7 separate regions of the Homo sapiens genome follow, and regions 1, 2, 4, 5, 6 and 7 are each linked to region 3. Evidence: promoter capture Hi-C in human tissues and cell types (Jung and others, 2019). All regions are on one chromosome and are shown on one strand. The core of a region is centred on a gene start or on the middle of the fragment in contact, and the rest is flanking DNA. Distances in the headings are between cores, read along the strand shown. Region 1 overlaps DOCK2 (dedicator of cytokinesis 2). Region 2 overlaps DOCK2 (dedicator of cytokinesis 2). Region 3 holds the start of SPDL1 (spindle apparatus coiled-coil protein 1). Region 4 overlaps DOCK2 (dedicator of cytokinesis 2). Region 5 overlaps SLIT3 (slit guidance ligand 3). Region 6 overlaps SLIT3 (slit guidance ligand 3). Region 7 overlaps DOCK2 (dedicator of cytokinesis 2).

The links. The method cuts DNA at HindIII sites, captures the fragments that hold promoters and counts their contacts. A contact is called where the count stands out against the background at its distance.
Region 1: a fragment that was not itself captured here is called in contact with the fragment with the promoter of SPDL1 in region 3 in 1 of the 25 tissues and cell types used here (mesenchymal stem cells).
Region 2: a fragment that was not itself captured here is called in contact with the fragment with the promoter of SPDL1 in region 3 in 1 of the 25 tissues and cell types used here (lymphoblastoid cells).
Region 4: a contact is called between a fragment that was not itself captured here and the fragment with the promoter of SPDL1 in region 3, in 1 of the 25 tissues and cell types used here (IMR-90 fibroblasts).
Region 5: a fragment that was not itself captured here is called in contact with the fragment with the promoter of SPDL1 in region 3 in 4 of the 25 tissues and cell types used here (H1 embryonic stem cells, bladder, mesenchymal stem cells and 1 more).
Region 6: a fragment that was not itself captured here is called in contact with the fragment with the promoter of SPDL1 in region 3 in 1 of the 25 tissues and cell types used here (mesendoderm cells).
Region 7: a fragment that was not itself captured here is called in contact with the fragment with the promoter of SPDL1 in region 3 in 1 of the 25 tissues and cell types used here (mesenchymal stem cells).

Annotation. Positions count from the first base shown.
Region 1 is chr5:170,066,988-170,069,687 of GRCh38, forward strand. It overlaps DOCK2 (dedicator of cytokinesis 2), which reads left to right. Exons shown (of 52, transcript NM_004946.3): 45 at 523-699; 46 at 2,150-2,233. Among named protein-coding and RNA genes, the nearest start is that of FOXI1, 38 kb to the right of the region's middle. The HindIII fragment of the contact is 5,135 bases long and covers 1-2,700 here.
Region 2 is chr5:170,023,815-170,026,785 of GRCh38, forward strand. The region is part of intron 33 of DOCK2 (dedicator of cytokinesis 2); the gene reads left to right. Among named protein-coding and RNA genes, the nearest start is that of MIR378E, 3.2 kb to the right of the region's middle. The HindIII fragment of the contact is 3,278 bases long and covers 1-2,971 here.
Region 3 is chr5:169,582,312-169,585,217 of GRCh38, forward strand. It overlaps SPDL1 (spindle apparatus coiled-coil protein 1), which reads left to right and starts at 1,462. Exons shown (of 12, transcript NM_017785.5): 1 at 1,462-1,578. LOC105377714 (a long non-coding RNA gene) reads right to left here and starts at 1,350. Exons shown (of 3, transcript XR_941200.3): 1 at 1,072-1,350. RefSeq lists an enhancer at 1,089-2,089. The HindIII fragment of the contact is 9,913 bases long and covers 1-2,906 here.
Region 4 is chr5:169,958,608-169,961,602 of GRCh38, forward strand. The region is part of intron 27 of DOCK2 (dedicator of cytokinesis 2); the gene reads left to right. All of the region lies in intron 1 of INSYN2B (inhibitory synaptic factor family member 2B), which reads right to left. Among named protein-coding and RNA genes, the nearest start is that of INSYN2B, 20 kb to the right of the region's middle. The HindIII fragment of the contact is 5,702 bases long and covers 1-2,995 here.
Region 5 is chr5:169,286,977-169,289,676 of GRCh38, forward strand. All of the region lies in intron 1 of SLIT3 (slit guidance ligand 3), which reads right to left. Among named protein-coding and RNA genes, the nearest start is that of SLIT3, 13 kb to the right of the region's middle. The HindIII fragment of the contact is 5,750 bases long and covers 1-2,700 here.
Region 6 is chr5:169,196,365-169,199,103 of GRCh38, forward strand. The region is part of intron 3 of SLIT3 (slit guidance ligand 3); the gene reads right to left. Among named protein-coding and RNA genes, the nearest start is that of MIR585, 66 kb to the right of the region's middle. The HindIII fragment of the contact is 6,366 bases long and covers 1-2,739 here.
Region 7 is chr5:169,985,357-169,988,056 of GRCh38, forward strand. DOCK2 (dedicator of cytokinesis 2) reads left to right here. Exons shown (of 52, transcript NM_004946.3): 29 at 472-566. Among named protein-coding and RNA genes, the nearest start is that of INSYN2B, 6.2 kb to the left of the region's middle. The HindIII fragment of the contact is 6,880 bases long and covers 1-2,700 here.

The sequences.
Region 1 (2,700 bases), core at 123-2,622, 480 kb after region 3:
ACTCTGTTTATATCGCCTTCTAAGAGGTGTTGGACAGGTGTTCTGTTTAATTTTCCCAACTAAAGTGAATCTACCTTGGAACAGTGAACCCCTCTAACAACCAGTCTTAGGACCTACTATGTGCCAGGCTGGGTGCCCACATCGCAAGCTGCTCTAATCTCTCTGGCCAATAACTCACACATAGTATCTGCCCAACCAATACTGAAAGGGTTGAATTGGCATGTGTTTCACCCAGATAATAAGAAGAGAAAACCTTCTCTGGGGCACACTCAGCAGGTACCTGACACTTCCTGCTTCTGCCTCCCCAAAGAAATCCCTTTCTCACTAAGCAGAAAGCCAGCCTGTCTCTCCCCAGAGAGCAGACAGCCCCCAGAGCTCAGTAATTACAAGATCCTGTTACAGCCCCTTAGGGAGCATTGCCTCATTTGAATTCCCACCCCAAGTGAAATCAATACCAATAATATCTGTTTTTAAAGTGACTTAACTAAGGCCCTTTCTTCTTGGTGATCTCATTTTCAACAGACCACAATTAGTCCTCTGGAGAATGCCATAGAAACCATGTCCACGGCCAATGAGAAGATCCTGATGATGATAAACCAGTACCAGAGTGATGAGACCCTCCCCATCAACCCACTCTCCATGCTCCTGAACGGGATTGTGGACCCTGCTGTCATGGGAGGCTTCGCCAAGTATGAGAAGGTGAGGATTTCTGTTCTCCAAGTCTAGGGGAGCTCGGTGAGCAGAGCAGTGGTGGGAGGACCCAGGGGGCAGATGCAGGTACATGTCACTTATCCTACTTTGACTGTCCTTGTCCCCAGAGGGACCCTCAGCTTGGTTGGCCCTCATGTTTCTATAGCCTCATGTCTTAGCTGAGCTCCTGTCTTCCTCCCAGCCTCTTTTCCATACCCTGTGCTGGGGCAGGGAGGGGCAGGAAGGGGCAGGGGTCATAAGGTCCCCTTATCTCACTGGGCAGATTCAGGTGGCTCTATTAAGGAAAGGCTCTGGGATGAGTGTGAGCCAGACCATAAAAGTACGTGCCAGTTGTATAAACCCACCTCTTCCACAGAGGATGTGAAATGATGTATACTAATGGAAAGAAATGAAACTCAGAATCTGTGAAAAGCCATAAAAACTAAGAGATCAACTCCAAAAGGGGAGCTATAATCTAGATATCAAGGTCATAAGGTCCCTCCAGAAAGCCCCACATGTTTGAGCCACAGATTTATTTTTGAGCTTCCTGGTGTTCACGGCAAAAAAGGAAATAGCATCACTTATATGAGTTACATTATCCACTGGAAGGAAAAATACCCATTTCTCAGTAAGGATACGTAGCTGTTCTTGGCATTGAAATAGAGTAGAAAGTTCTTACTTGGTTTTCACCTAGCAGACACTGAAGGAAAAATGAACTCCTCATTCTAACAAATCTTTTGATGAATTCCCTATTATCTTTCCTATGTTATCCATTGATGTAAAACTAAGAATACCACACAGTAGTATAATTTGGGGACAATAATTCCAGTCACCTAATCAATCCTTCCAACTACCCTCAGATACCCATGCAGTCATCATTGGTAACCCTTTGCTCAGCCTTGAGCAGTGATGGGATATGTCTGTTTATACATGAGCACACACTAAGGACATGAGCCCCAGAAAGGGGCTGCCAGGGTCACTTGCAATGAGGGAGGCCATGAGGTGAGCTGGAACACCCACCAGTGAGATTCCTTACTGAATTATTTTCCACAGAGCAATGTTCTCAAACTTGAAAGGAGCATCAGAATCCCCTACAGTGCTTCCTGACACACGGGTCCTCACCCCACCCCCAGAGTTTCTGATTCAGGCTGTCTGGGCTGGGGCTAGAGACTTTGCATCTCTAACAAGTTCCAAAGTACTGTTGCTGCTACTGGCTCAGGAACCTGACTTTGAGAACAGCTTCCCCAGAGTTTGCAGCCCATTCCCACTGGGTGCTGATCTGAGCCTCAAAGCAGATAAAACAATGTCAGTCTCTCCAGACCTGTTACTCTTGTTCCATCCACATGCCTGTGACCTCATCCTTGCCCCTTTCAAATTGAATCTTCTCCCAGTGCCAAAGAGATTGGCTGTGAAATGCCACATGAACAGGAAACCCTGACCTCCTATCTGTCCTCCCCAGGCCTTCTTCACTGAAGAGTATGTCAGGGACCACCCTGAGGACCAGGACAAGCTGACCCACCTCAAGGACCTGATTGCATGGCAGGTGAGGCAGCGCTGGCCAGGGGAGCATGCTGCTCTCCTTCCTCTCCCCCCACCGTGGTTCACTTGCCCCACGCTAGGCTCTAGCTGAGGCAGCCTGAATTCACATGCCCTCCTGTCCCTTGCTTTTCAGCCCCTCTTCCAACTCTGTATCACACCTGAGCAGGTTCATCCTGGAACAGAGATTTGGGGCATCGCACTCTTGGGTGTTGCATGGTGCCAGGCAGCAATGCTATGCTGGATGGTGCCAAGATTATCTTATTTGATGTTGAATTCAGGGGATGGCTTTTCACAGCGGGATGCAAATAAACACCAGGCCCCCACACTCCAAACCAGCACCTTCCCCCGACACCCAGCACAGGCCAATCTGATAATAGAAGACTTGAGCCCCTACTCCCACTTCTCCTCCTTTTAGAGCTGACCCACTTTGTTGCAATAATGCTCAGATGGATATCAGGTTTTGAAAATAAT
Region 2 (2,971 bases), core at 238-2,737, 440 kb after region 3:
TCTCTGCTCTTCCCATGTCAATGTCAGCACCAGACGTGTGAGGAAGAGCAATCACTCCCCAAATCTCATACTTCTACAGGGCTGGACTCCAATCAGAAAACATTCTAGGAGAACAAGATGATAAAAATAGCCAAGATATTCTAAAGCAGCCAGGAGAGGCAAGAGAAGCAATGCAGGGAAGGCATGAAGCAAACACGAGGCCCATATCAGGCCAGTCTCCTGGAAGAGGGAGGCCCAGGCAGAAGGTTTGGGCTCCTGGAGTCCACTCCTCCTTTCTCGATTAGAGCTTCTCAAGATTTGTATTGGGCCTCTGTAGAATCTGACTTCTGTAGTGGCTCAATACAAATCTGTGGATACTCATTAGCAAACATCCACCTCGCAGCAGTGGGGTAAGGAGTCAATGATGTGATGCAGTCATGTAGCTGTGGATGAAAATGGAAGTAATTTGGAGAAGCCAGAGCTACATCCTCAACTCTGGATGGTGACAGTGTTGGGGGTAAGGACTGTTGCAGCATCATGATGGAGTGTATGTTTGGGAGAGCCTTTTTTTTTTTTTTTTTTTTTGAGACAGAGTCTTACACTCTGTCACCCAAGGTCCTACGTTGCCTCAGCCTCCTCATTTGTAACATGGGGATGATGACATTCTTCTCCCTTGGCTGTTGTAAAGATTAAATGAGAGTATGATGCCTATGATGATGACAATGACAATAGCATGATGAGCTTTGCTAACAATTATTGAGCACTTACTATGTGCCAAGTGCCTTATACGTGTGTTTGCCCTTTAATTTGTTACAGTACCACTATGAAGGAGATGCTATTTCAAATCTCCATTTAATAGATGAGCACATTAAGCCTTAGAAATGTTTATTAACTTGGCTAAGGTCACAGGGCTGGGAAAAAAGTCAAAGCAAGACTCAAACCAAGTCTATTCAATGCCACAGACTGTGAGCATAGCCATTTCTGAGCACAGTACTGACCCTGGGATATGCCTGACTGAGACCTTACCCCTCCAGCTCACCCCAAGGGCTCAGGCATGGTGGTATGGTATCATTTGTCTCACACACTCCCTGGAACCCTGTAATTTCCCTCCTGGCAGGCTCTTTTGTGATCCTGAGACAAGTGCTTATTTACCTCAACCACTTCTGTGCTCCAAAGAAAAGTTCAGCTCACCAGGAAGAATCATGCCAGCATTTCCCAGTGAACCACTCAGACAAGAAAAAATGCACTTTTCTCCCCCTGCGCTGCTTTCTAGTAACATTCGGCAGTAATAACAATAACATTAGTGGTGATGACAAGTCGAGGGACACAGCACACACTTAATGTTAGGCACTTTGCTAGTGCTTTACATATAAAATCTCTGTGCCCTATAGCTACTCCACACTGTAGGTACTACTGTTATGCCCATTGTATTGATAAGGGGTAGACAAACTCTGGCCCACAGACCAAATCCATCCTTCCACCTGCTTTTGTAAATAAACTTTTATTGGACTACAGCCATGCCAATTTGTGTATGTGTTGTCTAGGGCTGGTTTTGTGCTACAGCAGCAGAGTTCAGTAGTTGTCACAGAGACCATCTGGCCTCCAAAGCCTAAATTATTTACTGTCTGGCCCTTTACAGGAAATGTTTGCCAGTCCCTGATCTAAATCCTGACCCTGAGGATTAGAAAGACCTACCAGCTTTCCCAAGATGGCAGAGGGAAGCGGTGAGGGATTTAAAGCCAGACAGCCGCACAGCAGACTCATTGTATAGCCCCTTAGCTGTATTTCTTCCTGCTCTAGGCTTGGCAGAGAAGACATCTCTAAGCATGATAGTCCCCAACCCTTGACATTGGATAATATTCAACACAGACATAATGCTTGACAGGATGCACCATAGAAGGGACGTGATTCATTTGCAGACTGGCAGTCTAGACTCTTGCCACACTGGGTCTCATCTAGGTGTCTGTTCCCTCCCTCCCTCCCTCCCTCCTTCCCTCCCTTCCTTCCTTCCTTCCTTCCTTCCTTCCTTCCTTCCTTCCTTCCTTCCTTCCTTCTTTCCTTCCTTCCTTCCATTTGTCCGTCCATCCATTCTTCTCTGCTCAAGCTGAACTGCTGTCTTCATTTTTCTCCACGTTCCCACCTCGACAGCTTTGCTCACACCGTTTCCCCCATCTGGAATGCCTTCCTTTTCACATTTATCACAGTCCTACCCATTTTTCCAGGCCCGGTATATCTCCTTCAATAAGTCTTCCCCAACTGAGGCAACTCACCGGAAATTCTTTGGCATTTGTGCTGTATCAGCACAAGCTTTTGGTCCCTCCCTTAGATCCTTTGTGCACAAAAGTGAGGGAACGATGGCATCACGGATGATGTGTGAACCAGAGGGAAGAGCAAATGTGGTCCCTGCCTTTTCATCACCTAAAGATTCCAACTCCATGGAGCTCTATCCTTTATGCCCAGGAAAGAGCCTGCCAAAGGTCTCTGCCATTCATCTAAGACTTTAGACAGGTCACTTAAACTCCCTGAGCCTCTACTTCTTCATCCGTAATAATAACTGACACCGAGGGTTGTACCAAGCAAGGGCTGGCTGCTCTTCATGCATTGTCACATTTAAAGGTGATCCGTGACCTCCAGACTTCATGAAGTATTATGAAGACCGGGTGTAAAGAGGTCAAGTTAGAGGTCAGGACTCCCCAAGTCCTCTTTTGGTCTTGGTGACCTTTGCGAAGCTCCCCTTTCCCTCTCCAGGTGCCAGTTTATTTTTTAATGGTAAAATGAGGGAAGGGTGGACTGCATGATTTGGATGGACTCTTCAGGGTATAATACTAAAATAGTAAAAACCATTTTGCAACAAAATCATGTTAAAAAGACGTTGGGTGACTTCAAAACAATGCGTTGAATAAGCCATGCACTCCAGTGGGTGAAATGCTTCTTAACATGGAAAGTAGGGAGACAAAGCATTCTGTGGCTTCAATGCAACAAGATTTGGTGG
Region 3 (2,906 bases), core at 212-2,711:
TGCAGCCAGTCATGATTGGCCTAAGCTAGAACAATCTTTTCCTGGCCCCTGAGTTAAGGAATCTTTGTTCAGTGATAGGGAAAATGGTATTTGTTTCATTTCTCCAAGAACATAGGTGTGATTACAAATGAATGAGCATCTGGTTCATTGGAGTCCCAGATAAATCTGTGAGACAACACTGTGAGCAATTTGTTGCCAATCTTAAAGCTCAGATCAACCCTTTGAGTCTGGCTTAGCTCAGGCAGAAATTGTAGTCTGCAAAAGAAACTGAGAAGAAGAGGGCAAGGAGAGTGTGGCATCCCAAGACATAAAGACTCAAATCAATGAGAGCAAGCAACTCTGTCAAATTTCACCAGAAGTGAGGACTAAATATTGACTACCGAATTTTGCAAGGTAGGAATCACTGGTAAACCTAACAAGAGCCACTTCATAGTATTGGTTGGGACCAAATCCTGGTTAAAGTGGGAAAAACAAACAAAAGAACAAAAGGTAAGAAAATGGAGATAATGGATGTAAAGATTTTTTTTCCCCAGAAATTTTGTTATAAAGAGAAGAAAACAAATGGGGTGGTTGCCGATTGGTGTCAAGGAGGATTTTTTAAAAAATGAAATCATGAAATGATTTTATGGCAATCACTGCAGCATGTTTATGAACTGATAGGGAAGATCCAATAGAGAAGAAAAAACTGAAGATGCAAAAAAGAGCAGTTAGAGCCAAGTTCTCAAATAGGCAAGAAAAGATGGGCTCGAAAGAACGACATGATTCATGTAACAGTTACTAGGACTCATCAGTGCTCATTAAATGTTATCTATTATTATTTCTGATCGCTTCAATTTTTGAATAGGCATCAGGGTTACAAAATATTATTATTAAAAACACATGCAAACAGCTTGGACTCTAAGACTGCATTCAATTCTAGTTCTACCACTTGGACAAGGCACTTTTTTTCTTCGGGCTTTTTCTCTGTAGAAAACGAGGAGTAATATCTGCCTCATAAGGCTGCGGGCTTAACTGAGATAATCTGTAAACTTTAACACATGGTGGGAACTTAAATATTAACGCCAGTATTACCACTGGTAGGGTGCATGAGATCGCACGATGGTGCCAAAGGTGTCTCTCCACCGCCCAGCCCAGCGACACTGTTCCCCTAGAAGGCATTGTCGTAAAAACAAAAAAAAAAAAAAAACGAACAAACAAAACACCAAAACACGGAAACTAAAAGCAAATACTTAAAAGACATGCAGGAAACCAGCCCAAGGAAAAATTTATGTGGAGCCACGTCTGCGCCTGCGCCTGCGCCAAGCCCACGGCGCGCCACTTGCACATGCGCAGTAGCTGTAGGAGGGGGTGGGCGCTCCATTGGGCGTTTCTCTTGGTTTTTCCTTTCCGCGCGGCTTGGGCGGACGTCTCGTGAGACGTGGGACTTCTCGCGGGAACTGCATTCAAATATCCCAGGCGCTTACTCGAGAGCTAGCTGAGCGAATGGGCCGGCGACTGTGGAGTTAGCGTCCTCAATGTGGACGCCCTGAGCTCCCATTAGGAGCCGCTGGCTGCGGCAGCAGGGGACTAGCGTGAGAGGTAGGGGCAAGGGGCCTGGTGGGAGGTGGGTGTGGAGAGCGGCAGTGGGGAGAGTCGAACAGGCCCTAAAGAAAGCTAGGGGCCGGGGTCTCGGCCGAGGCCTTTAGCTGAAACATCTCCTTCCCCGGAACCCTGGGGTCTTATACACTGGGTTCCGAGCCGGTCTTATCTTCCGCTGGACCACCTCGCCGCCCTCAGGGATTCTGGACAAATATGGAACGTTGGGTCGGTTGCCGGGTCCTCAAAATTATAACCGCCACTGGATCTGCGCTGTGCGGTACGGTAGCCTCTAGCCCGAACTAAGAAATGGTGCAGATGGGAGATACATATTGGGTTTCAGAGATAGCGCATAAGGAGTAATATCTCATTAATAATTTTTATAATGATTACATGTTGAAATGATGTTTTGAGTGTATTTGTTTAAATATGTAAATTAATTTTTCATCTTTGTTTACTTTTTAAATCATGATGGCTCCTAGAACATTTAAAATCACGTACATGACTCGCGTTATATTTCTGCTGGACAGCACTGCCCCAGCCGTGTGTCAGATTCTACCCTAATTGCTTTTCATTCGTTATCTCATTTAATCCTTTCAGTAACCGATTAGGTGGGTGTTATTGTGCTTGTTTTTATAGATGATTAAACCAGAAATTAAATAACTTGTCCAAGTTCATGCAGCCAGTGAGTAGTGGAGGCGGGGTAAGAACTCAGGCAGTTTGATTCCCAGAGTTTCCTGTGTCCCAAATGCTTTGTGTGTGCTATATTTTTGAGAAGCAGGACAGGAAAAATGGTTGCAGCACCATGGTTTCTAGGTAGATTCTAGTTCCCATCACACTTCGCGTCTTAACTTGCGGGTAACCCTAAGCAAGTTACTTAAAACTTTCTATGCCTCAGCTTGCATGTGTAAAATGAGGGAAATACCTTCAACCTCTTGAAGTTGTTGAGAAGATTGAATAAGAATGTGTATAAAGCGGCCGGGTGCGGTGGCTCACGCCTGTAATCCCAGCTACTCGGGAGGCTGAGGCAGGAGAATGGCGTGAACCCGGGAAGCGGAGCTTGCAGTGAGCCGAGATTGCGCCACTGCAGTCCGCAGTCTGGCCTGGGCGACAGAGCGAGACTCCGTCTCAAAAAAAAAAAAAAGAATGTGTATAAAGCACCAAGCACAATGTCTGTCACACATTAGTAGTTTTTAATCAACCACGGCTATCTCTCTTTGTAGATTGATAGGTTAACTCTTTCTCATCCATTAGACCTCTGCTGAAAAGTTACTTCCTCAGGAAAATTTTTTTGTCCATGTTCCCTTCTACGCGCTGCCCCCCAGATTAGG
Region 4 (2,995 bases), core at 496-2,995, 380 kb after region 3:
AAAATGTGGTTTAAATATTGATTGTATAGGAACAATGTCACATTTTAAGATTGAGTGTTAGGCGTGGAGCTCTCTTGAAGATGGTTAAGTATGTATTAAGGCCAGGAAAAAAGCTGGTGTGCAGCAATGCCCAGCAATAGAGGGCATTCAGGCAGGAGGGGCTGTCATTCATCAGCTACCCAGTCACCCTCATAATTGGTTCAGGGCAAAGGGGTCTCACCTTTTCATGCTTCTCTGTTTTGCCAAAAATACTTAAGAGAGTGGGGGAAAAACCTAGTACGCTTTGTGTCTCTCAAAGACAATGTGTTTTATCAGCATTAGCAACTCATAGTTGGCTAAGGAATGAGGCAGGTTCCTAGAATCCAAATCAAACAGCTCCCGTTAGTAAACTACTAACTTATAAAGTATTTAAGCCTAGGACTGGGCAGAAACAACATATGAAAATGTAGGTAGCATTGCAGAATATTCTGATGAGTAGAAATCATGTATAAAAAGCACAAACTGGCTGGGCATGGTGGCTCATGCCTGTAATCCCAGCACTTTGGGAGGCCGAGGGGGGCGGATCATGAGGTCAGGACATTGAGACCATCCTGGCTAACATGGTGAAACCCTGTCTGTACTAAAAATACAAAAAAAATAGCTGGGCGTGGTGGTGCACGCCTGCAGTCCCAGCTACTTGGGAGGCTGAGGCAGGAGAATCGCTTGAACCTGAGATCACACCACTGCACTCCAGCCTGGGTGACAGAGAGAGACTCCGTCTCAAAAGAAAAAAAAAAAAGGAACAAACTATTCCCAACAACTCTAGGGGAGTCCAGAAGATCATTCTGCAGAAGTAGAACTGGTGTGATGGCTTGATGTTACCAAAAAGAAGTTTATGGTTCAACATAAGGAAGAACTTTCTAACAATTCTAATAGTCCACAGGGTGATGGAATTTCTGATTAGGTAGAGATTTCTCTCTCTTTGGAATCTTGCAAGCAGAGGTCACTGAATCTTTTATTGGGAATGCTTCACAGAGGATCATGCATAAAGGTAAGTGTTGGACTAAAGGACTTTAGGGAGTCCGTCCAGTTCTCAGGTCTCCAACTGTGTGTTACTTGGCCTTGACTAGATATTTTACTAACAGGTGCCATCCTAGTTATTCCACATCCTTAGAGTCATCGTAGATCTAGAGAGATCTAGAAGTAGTTCTGTGGAAACCAGGTAGAATGCTCAGAGGGCAAAATAGGAAATACAACAATAGGATGGAAAAGAGGTTTGGCCAGGAAAAGAGGAAACAGAAGCACTTCAGAGAGCTGAGCCTGCAATATTTGGAAGGGGTGCAAACAGCTTGTTTGGTTTCTGTTGAGGTCCAGATAAGAGTAAATAGGTTAAATTAAATTCGACCATGTAAAGCTAGATCATCAGAGGCAGAGTGTCGGATCTCAGGCTATCAGTCCCTCAAAGAACTGCCTTTATTGAAGGTGGATGAGGGAACGGTCAGGTTGAGGAGCATTTTATGCTTTTGTGAAACTGATGAAGGCAAGGTCTACCCTGCCTCTCTGAGTTCTTTTATAAGTACCCATGATAAATTTCCACCAGTGTATAGTTCCAGAGGAGGAAATAATGTAGTTCCTACAGAAAGCTGTGTATGCCTTCCATGTCAAAAGATAAAACCTCTGTACATGGGTATCTTTGTTTTTCTTAGCTGTTAGAGAATTCAGAGACAGATCCTTGGGTATTTACATCTGCTCATTTATGGTGCCTGAAAGGTGCTATTTCTGGTTCTTGTAGCAGATGAACTCATTTCAGGCCATTGATAATATTAATATGTCTTGTTTTTCAGCCTGCCATTCATCTCACATCTTTTGGGAAGTGAGTAGGCTCAAATCTCATATACTCAAGATGAAATGGAATAAAAAGGAAAATTATTGATTAGAAAGAAACATGAGGTTCTAAGATAGGTTTTCAAGGTGGATTGGAGGATTTCTATCACTTAAAATGACCAATAATGGAGGGCCAGCCATTTGACTCAATATTCTTGGCCATCATTAGTCACCTGTACTTGTGTGGTAATATTCGGGTCTCTATATTGTTGTCCCCTCCTCCCACAATCCATGGTTTTACTTTCCATGGTTTGTTACTTGCAGTTAATTGTGGTCCAAAAATATTAAATGGAAAATCCACAGATAAATAATTCATAAGTTTTAAATTGTGTTCTGTTCTGAGTCATGTGATGAAATCCTACTCTCTTTGCCTAGGATGTGAATCATCCCTTTGTCCAGTATATTCACACTGTACAGGTATGCATGCATAGGAAAAAATCATAGTATATATAGGGTTCAGTATAGGCTATGAACTGAATATATATACTAGGGTTCATAGTATATATAGGTTCACTATCCATGGAGTCTTGGAACATATCCCTGAGGACTAAGAAAGACGACTGTAACTATCATGGTAAACACCCCAGTATATTGCATGAGTGAGTGATGGTAGTGAGACACTGTTTAGGTCAACCTGTTGCCCATTTGCAATTTCATGCATGTAGGGAGATCAGTCATATGTCCTACAATTGTCATTGGCCATAGATGAGGGGGCATAAATGGGTAGCCCCCCAAGGGCAATTAATGGATCATCATCATCTCTAACATTTCCACACCTAGGATAAATGCTGTCAGAGTTCTGGTATCTGTGAAGGTTTGTGGAATTAAATTAAGATGAATGGAATATAATTGAAGTGACTTGAACTACACTGAACAGAATTAAATTGAATTGCCTAGTCTTGCCTTGCATCAGGGGAATGTATTACCTTTGCCTGCTAATCAACTCTAACAACAGTGCAAGAATAAGTATAGCATGCTGAGCATAATGTTTGAAATTTAAACGTGTTCATTTTAAAACTATTGACTGTGCACCTTTTACATTCAGGCACTGTGTTGGATGCTGGGAAAACATGGTGGACTAAGCAGACATTTCTCTGCCTCAAGGAGCTCCACCTAGGAAAGGAGACAAGCA
Region 5 (2,700 bases), core at 93-2,592, 300 kb before region 3:
CTTAGGTCTTTGCAAAATTTCTAGAATGTACAAGGAGGGCACACGGCAGGGGGAAGCTTATGGGAAATGTTTCAGAAAGTACTAAAATGTATGCCTAAACAGAGTAAACAGAGCAGATTGGTTACCATCTTGTGCTATGAAGCAATTAGAAGGGGAGGGGTGTTGGTAGGGAACTAGAGTCATTAAAAGCTCCCATGAAGCAACTGGCCTTCCCATTTTTGGATTCCTGCTCCAGTCCTGGTTCCCAGTGTTCCTTCCCTTGCCGTTTTCTTCAGCTGGGATCTTCCCTCTCTAGACTCGAAATAAGCTGCAGGCTTGGTGCTGAGAGCCCTCAGGATATGATCTGCCATCCCGAGTCACCCATCTGGTGCCTCTCCCCTCTGCTTCCACATGATTCCCTATTTTTTTTTGTACTAGATGTGGTCCCTCTTCTGTCTCCCTAGCTTCCCAGATTGGCAGAGGCTTCCCATGGCTCTGCATGATCTTTGCACAGGATGAGGCAGAAATGAAGGCACCTTTTCATAAGGGCAGACCACACCAGGAAGCTGAGGTCCTCTCTGGTGACCTTTCTAATGCATTTCCCTTTGGAGATGGGTTGAGATCAGTGGGGAGGGAGTAGACCAGATGATCTCCAGTGATACCTCAAAAGCCTGAAAATCTCTTGGCTAGGGAAGCCAACAAGAGGGGGAGGAACAGAACCAAGTTCTGTGGCACAAATTCAGAACTTGTACGCTGGCAGCAGATGGAAAGGGAGGTGCCAGCTTCTAGCAGGAGGGGATGTGGTGGACGCGTTTCTCAGGGCGGTTGCAAGCCACAAGTCTTGCATTCCAAAGGACCTGGTGAATGCTGCCTGAGAACCTGCCTCTGACACAGCCACAGCATAGGTCTCCAGGCACCAGGTGAGATCTCCAAAAAGAAACTCCACTGGCCAAGTGAAGGTTCTTAGACCCTTTCTCCCAGAGCAGGGTCTTCCCCATCGCCTACCCCATGCTTAGGCAAACTTGCCCAAAGTACAAATTTTATTCCAAATCCCCCTCCCTCATTTTCCCCTAGGAAAATTCCTCCTGCTGAGTTAAACCTAAGAGAGAAAAATAAAGATATTACCACTCAGGGAAACAATGTCCTAGGGGTCCCTTGCAGCCGAGGAGGGGAAGGGAAGCTGGCCCCCTAAAGAAGGCCCTGTATCTCCTCATGGCCTCAAATGCTGCTGTGCTGTGTGTCAGTGTTTATGAAATGCTTCTCAAATAAGGTCAGTGTTCTACACAGAGTTAGAACTCTAATAAAATGCAGAACTTGTGCTGTTTGCCAGCTAGCTGCAGAGGCATACTTGAATGCTTTCTCAGATACAATTGTTCTCAGATTAATATTTCCCCCTTGAGTTTTTTTTTAATTCCACTTGTACTATTTTTTTATGATGTGGGAGGCTTTCTACATATTTGTACCCACTAAAAGGGATGAGGGGGCTTGCTTTCATCAATGATTCCTGAGGGTTTGGTGCTACATCCTTCATGGTTCTAGCATTTCTCCCAACCCATAAATCTCCCTGCTCTGAACCTAGCATGGTAGCCTTTGCCTTGTCAGTCATTTAGAGGGAGAGACAGTCCAGACTAACTTTGAAGTTAGTTTGAACTGTTCTAGTTACCAGAACATTTCACTTGCTTTATTCATTGTGGTAGACACTCAATAAATGGCCCCTTTAAATGACTCCATCCTTCATGGATTCCCTTATTTGGTCCTACTGTCTTGGACACTGTCACTTATTAATTACCCAGTCCTCTAAACTCCACCTGGTTAAGCTGCTGACATGGCTGGTATGAGGTTATATTTTAATTTGTAAAAGATGCATCTTGTTAAATGAAAAGGAAACTGGAACAAGAGTTTGAAGACATGGGTGACTCTGAGCAAGGCTTTGGAGCTCCCTGAGTTTCTTCATCTGTAAATGAAAGCTTCTAAAATATACCCTGATCGTCTTCCAGATACAGGATTTAGTGGTTCAATTCAGATATTGTGGGTGGACTCATTAAGGTATTCGCATAGCACTAAATTTAGAAGGCATTTGGAGACATCTGATCTCATTTAAACCTTGCATCAGCCCCCTGAGATGAGTGTTATTTCTCCCATTCCAAAGGTTATAGATGAGACTATGGAGACCGCAAAGGTACTCAGACAGGTCGGGCAGTTAGAAAGTGACAGAAGCCAGGATTCAGCCTAGGTCTTTCTACTCATTTCGGCTTACATCCAAATTGTACTCCCCCTTGGCTTCTCACTAATTCCACTTAGAATCCCCATACTCAGAACACTTTCTACCTACATTCTAGAGCTGGAGAGAGAAGAAGAGGAGAGAAAGAATGTCAGCAAAGTACTAGATAGTCCAGAAATTTCTGCAACACATTATTGAACAGGACAGCTCTCCAATGAGATCATCACTGCTGCGCTTTTTAATTACAAAATGATCTGTCCTATTTGGGATACAGGGAGTTCAGGAGTATGTCTAAGTAATTCATCATTTATAGAGTCCAGCCCTGGGGCACTTTTACATGCTACCCTGGACATGATAAAAGATTTCAGATGGCCATAAAGACGAAGTCTGAGGTTGTTTCCAGGGCAGAACTCTGAGTTCTTGCAAGTCTGCAGTCTCCAGTGAAGGTCCAGGCCATGAAATCCAATTTCAGGACCTGGGGTTCTGATGGTGACAGTCCA
Region 6 (2,739 bases), core at 126-2,625, 390 kb before region 3:
TCTAGCCCTTTGGACCTCAGTTTCAGATCTGCAAAATGGGTTACAGTGAGTCTTAAATGACACAGTGTCTACGCAAGCGTTCAGCACTGCAATAAGAGCATGACAACAGTGATGATAATGGTATGGATTGAGTTCTACATGCATGTCAAACGCCATGCCACGTGCTACACAGGCAGGATCATAACTGCAGCAGTGCTCATGGTAGGTGTCATTATTAATCCTGTCTCATACAGAATGAACCTGAAGCCTGGGGAGGTCAAGCCATCCCCAAGGCCACAATGTCAGGAAGTGGTAGTGGCAGGATTTGCACCCAGTCGGTCAGACTCCAGAGCTCTAGTTCTGAACCACCATGCTACTCAAAGCCTTTCAATAAACAACAGCTCCCTCTCCCTTTCCCTTTCTTAATTTTTCTGTTTCTTTTCATCCAGAGTTGCCACTTCCTCCAACCCATCCAAGGCAATGAACCACCCTGTGTACATTGCCTTCCCTGGAAAGGAACTCTCTTGGAGGTCCCTAAGGCAAGAACTGAGTCTCTATGTGGGTCTGTCTGGAACCACCCTCTATTGTCACAACTGTACAAAGTCTTTTAAGAGTTATATTCAGAGAACCAACACTCCATTCCAGGCAAAAATCCTAAAACCCAGCTTGCTGCTGTCTTCAGTGAGTAGGGTGTTCGGTTTGCTGAAAACCCTAAACCAGAGTTGAAGCTAAAAATAAAACCAGCTTGGCTCCAAGGCTCCTGGAAGGGAAGGAATCATTTTCAGTTTTTTGCCGGTATTTGTGGCTGGACAAAAATAAAAATATAACTAAATTTAGCCAATTGTGTGCTGCCCACTGCTTCATAAACCCTGAATGAGGATTCTGGGACAGATGGGTGGGGCTCTGCTCCCAAAAGCCTTGGGACCTTTCCACTTAAGCTCGAGCAGGTCGCCTGCTGGTTCTCAATATCAGAAGGAGCTAGATACTGTATTTCCAGGTAACTCCAGGATTTACTCATATTTACTGAGTAAATATGGGCCTGGAAAGTCTTCCTTGAAAAGATGATGAAGGCTCCAAGCTGCATAAGGTACACTTCCCATGTGGCTTCTGTGAAAGCAGCCCCTCAACAGGAAAATGAACAGAATGAGACATGCTGTTCTCCTGATAAACAGGTAAGTGCCGGGTGCAGACAGTGGCTATTGGCCATGGTACACTCATGCCATCTGCTGTTCTGTTACTCTGGGTCCAGAGGTGGAGATCTCCTGCCATAGTTCAAGCTGGAAGTAAATCCATGATTACTGAATGGAGAACAGGACTGAATGGAACTCATATGAGGACAGAACTGAGGAAGTCAGCAAATGAGATGTGGGCCAGGGCAATGACAGGATAAGGCCTTCCTAGGTATTCCCTCTCCCACTAAGATCAAAACTCCTCAGCTTTCCTGATGCAACAATGGGGAGCATAAAGGTAAAAAAAAAACCAACTGGCTGCTGAGTTGCAAAGCCATACTGCTTTTCAGCCTGAATTGAGAAGCACTAAGAAATAGGCCCTTGTCTTTGTGGAACCACTAAAGGCCTTTCTAGATGTACCTGGGTGTAAGATATAAATAGAAGTTTTTGCCACTTCATCGAACCCATCCATGTATCCATTCAACCATTCATCCATCCAACTGTTCATTTATCTGTACATCCAACCACCATCCATCTATGCATCAACCAACCCATCTACCCAAGCATTCACTCATCCGTCCAACCACCATTTACCCATCCATCCATTCTTTCATTTCTCCAGTTTTTCAATATGAACATACAAAAATGAATAAGATACAGCCCCTTCTTTTAAAAATGTCATATGCTAGTGAAGAAGACAGACCTGAAAACAAAAAATTGCCATGTTCTTGAAAGCGAAGGTGTCGTGGGAACACAATGGAGCAGCAGCTAACCCAGTCCTTGTTAAAAGAAGGCTTCCCAAGGAAGATGGTTTTGAGTTTAGTTTTAAAGGATGACTAGAACTCTTTAGGAGACAGAGGTGGAGACTTCTAGACTGAGAGAGCAGTATGTGCTCTGTACTCCATGGAGGGCCAGGAGACAGGAGCATTTGGGAAGCAGGCTTGCACTGCTAGAACACAGAGGTGACCTGCGAACACAAGTGATGAAGGTGTACAACTAGGCAGCAGTCATACCACAAAGGGCCTTTTTATCCATAATAAAGAATTTGGGTTTGGCTTTTTACAGATAGTAAGAGGGAGCCAGAGAAAGGGTTTGAGCAAGGGAGTGATAATCTGGTTTGAATTTTAAAAAGTTCTCCTGGCCGGGCGTGGTGGCTCATGCCTGTAATCCCAGCACTTTGGGAGGCCAAGGTGGGCAGATCACGAGGTCAGGAGCTCGAGACCAGCCTGGCCAACATGGTGAAACCCCGTCTCTACTAAAAATATAAAAATTAGCTTGGCATGGGGATGCACATCTGTAATCCCCGCTACTCGGGAGGCTTAGGCAGGAGAATCACTTGAACCCAGGAGGCAGAGGTTGTGGTGAGCTGAGATCACACCACTGCAAGCCAGCCTGGGCAACAGAGCAAGACTCCAACTCAAAAAACAAACAAACAAACTATACACACACACACACACACACACATATGTGTGTATATTTATATATATATATATAAATACACACACACACACACACACATACATACATATACACATGTCTCCTGAGTAGCAGTAAGCCCAGTTTGGAGGAGGTTGAAATCGGAAGCAGGAAA
Region 7 (2,700 bases), core at 188-2,687, 400 kb after region 3:
GTGTGTGTGTGTGTGTGTGTGTGTGTGTGTGTGTGTGTATGTGTGTGACATATGAATTAGCTGTATTTACAGCACTGCTAATTAGATGTTCATTTTAATAAGAGTTTATTTGCTCAATGACCTGAGATGCTTTCATACAGTGAGATTATTTCCTTCTCAAATACATATTTGTGAAAATGATTATAAAATTGCCACATCAATGAGTACATTTACTTCTTTATTCCCAAAGATGGAATTAATAGTGCTTTATTTTGAGAACATTTTCGCATCCCATATTCATGTTCCACTGACATTTGGGAAACAGCATTCCAGCATTCAATCTTTAAGCTTCCATTTAATTTAGTTAATGAAAGGCTGTGTCCCTTCCCTTTTCCTCCCTCCAAAATATAATAGCAAAAAAATTTGAAGAGCCAACAAGCTCTGAGTTCCTGTAAAACAGGATGACATGTGTGCTGTGCTTCATTGTTTCAGGACTTCTTGATGGAGACCTTCATCATGTTCAAGGACCTCATTGGAAAGAACGTGTACCCTGGAGACTGGATGGCCATGAGCATGGTTCAAAACAGGTGAGCTGCTACCTGCTTCCGCAAAGCTACCTTACCCAGCCCTCACTTCAAAGATCACTTATTTTGGGTTAAATTAGGGACAATTTCTCCTTGCTGAAAAGAAATTAAAGTGTTAAGGCATGCTTTCTTTCTATCTTTAAACCCAGGGAAGGACTCCTCACCAATCGAAGCTACTCAAAAAATCGTCTCCAACTTCTCCATTTTTCAAATCCCAGTTAGAATATCATACTTCATCTCTGAAGCCTTTCGTTCACTCTTGGGACAGGAGATCTTAGAAAAGCATTTTAAAAATATATTATTTTAATTTTTAAAAAGTAATAAAATATATTCTGTGACATGGTAAAATAAGTTTAGGAAGCATTAAATTAAACAGATTTGAACAGATTTCCATGCTGCAGGACTTCTTCAAGCTTTTAATTTGCTAATGTGATTTTTTTCTAAGAGGAGGATTTAGGGTACAGCATTCCATTTGCCCATCCATTTGCACATAGGATGTGCATTTGGTGTGTCTATGTGTGTATCTATAATACCCGTTAACATCTCCTACACTATCAGTGTAACCCAAGTATAGCTTAGATGTCCTATGGCCCAACACAACAAGAGATAAAAGTAATTCTAAACAATTTCAGTCTCTGCTCCTAGGTTTCTTATATCATTTCACCAAAGTAAAATCCAAATTATAACATTCATTAATCTTTTCTAATATTCCCTTGGGTTTATTTCTAATATTCCTTGGATTTCCCCAAGCCTCTCTCAGAACCTGATTCTCAAATCCTGCCGATCAGTTCCTTTAAAACAGCATCTTTTTGGTTCTTCTCTTTTCTTTCTCCCTGCTTTCCTTTGGCTTATTTTATTTGTTTTAAATTCTTTCATGGAAAGCCCTTCAACTTATACTGGTGTCTAGTTTTATCTCCCTCTACCTATTGTTCTTGTTTTATATCAAAAAACCAAGCATTGTCTGGCAAAGATAGAAATATCCCTAGAGGGCAGAATAAGGGGAGAAGTTAAAAAGACAAAATCAGAATTCTCTGAAGTGGAAGGGAAAGAGCAAACACTAACTCAAACTTGCCCAAGCAAAAAGAGAATGTATTGGCACAGATAACTGAAAGAGCCCTGAGGTGTGGCTTCAGGCATGGATGTATCTAGGTGCTCAAATAGCAATGTAGGGAATCTGTGTGTGTGTCTCTCTCTGCTTTTTCTATTTACTTGATTCTCAGGCAGATGCTCTCTTAGTGGGGAAAATGGGCTCTAGAAGTTGCAGATATATTCCTTGTTGTATTTTCAACCACAATAGAATGAAAAGGCTTCTTTTCCTATAGGTACAGAAAAAATCCTGAGGCCACTCTTCAAAGGTCTGGCCTGAGCTACATGCCCATCCATGGACCTCTGCGGCCAGCCAAATGAAATGTGCTATTAAGTCAGGCTTGGATTTCATGACCCGCCTTTGGAACTGGGTCAGTTCTACCAAAACCACAAAGTCAGGGAATAAGGAAAGAAGCAGAGAGAGTAGTTCTTCAAAGGAAAATCTAGAAGTTGTTACCAGAAAGAGGACTAAATAATGGGCAGGTGAATGCACAGATGTCCAGCCTTGATCCAGGGTCTTGGGGTTGGAGCCCTGGCCAGGCAACTTCCCCTTCTGAGCTGTCCACACGGTCCTTCTGGAAGAAACATGTGCTGGGTCCCATGGGAGTGCTTTGAAGGAATATTTCCTCCTGAAATCCCAGCTTCATTCAAACTTTAGTCATTTTTGGGAGAGGCCCCCAGAAATGATACAGTAATCCTTATTTCTTTATACCTAGAAAATTAGAATGTAATTTCCTAACGGACCTAATACATTGGAAATCTCTCCTAAATAGAAATCATAGATTTGTATCTCTTAAGGGTCAGCCAAGTACTTATGTTTTGTACATTAAAGAAAAAAGTTAGACTCTAGAACACAGCCTGGGCTTCAGACTCTTTAATTCTGCCACTTTCTCTTTCTTGGGAAGTCATTTAACCTCTTGGAGTGTTAGTTTCCTAGTCTGTAAAATGGGGATAATGGTAGTTTCTATTTCATGAAAATTGCTTTGTGTGTACGAGGATAGAATGAGTTACTCCTTAGCACAGTGCCAGGATCAAGGAAAATATCAATAAT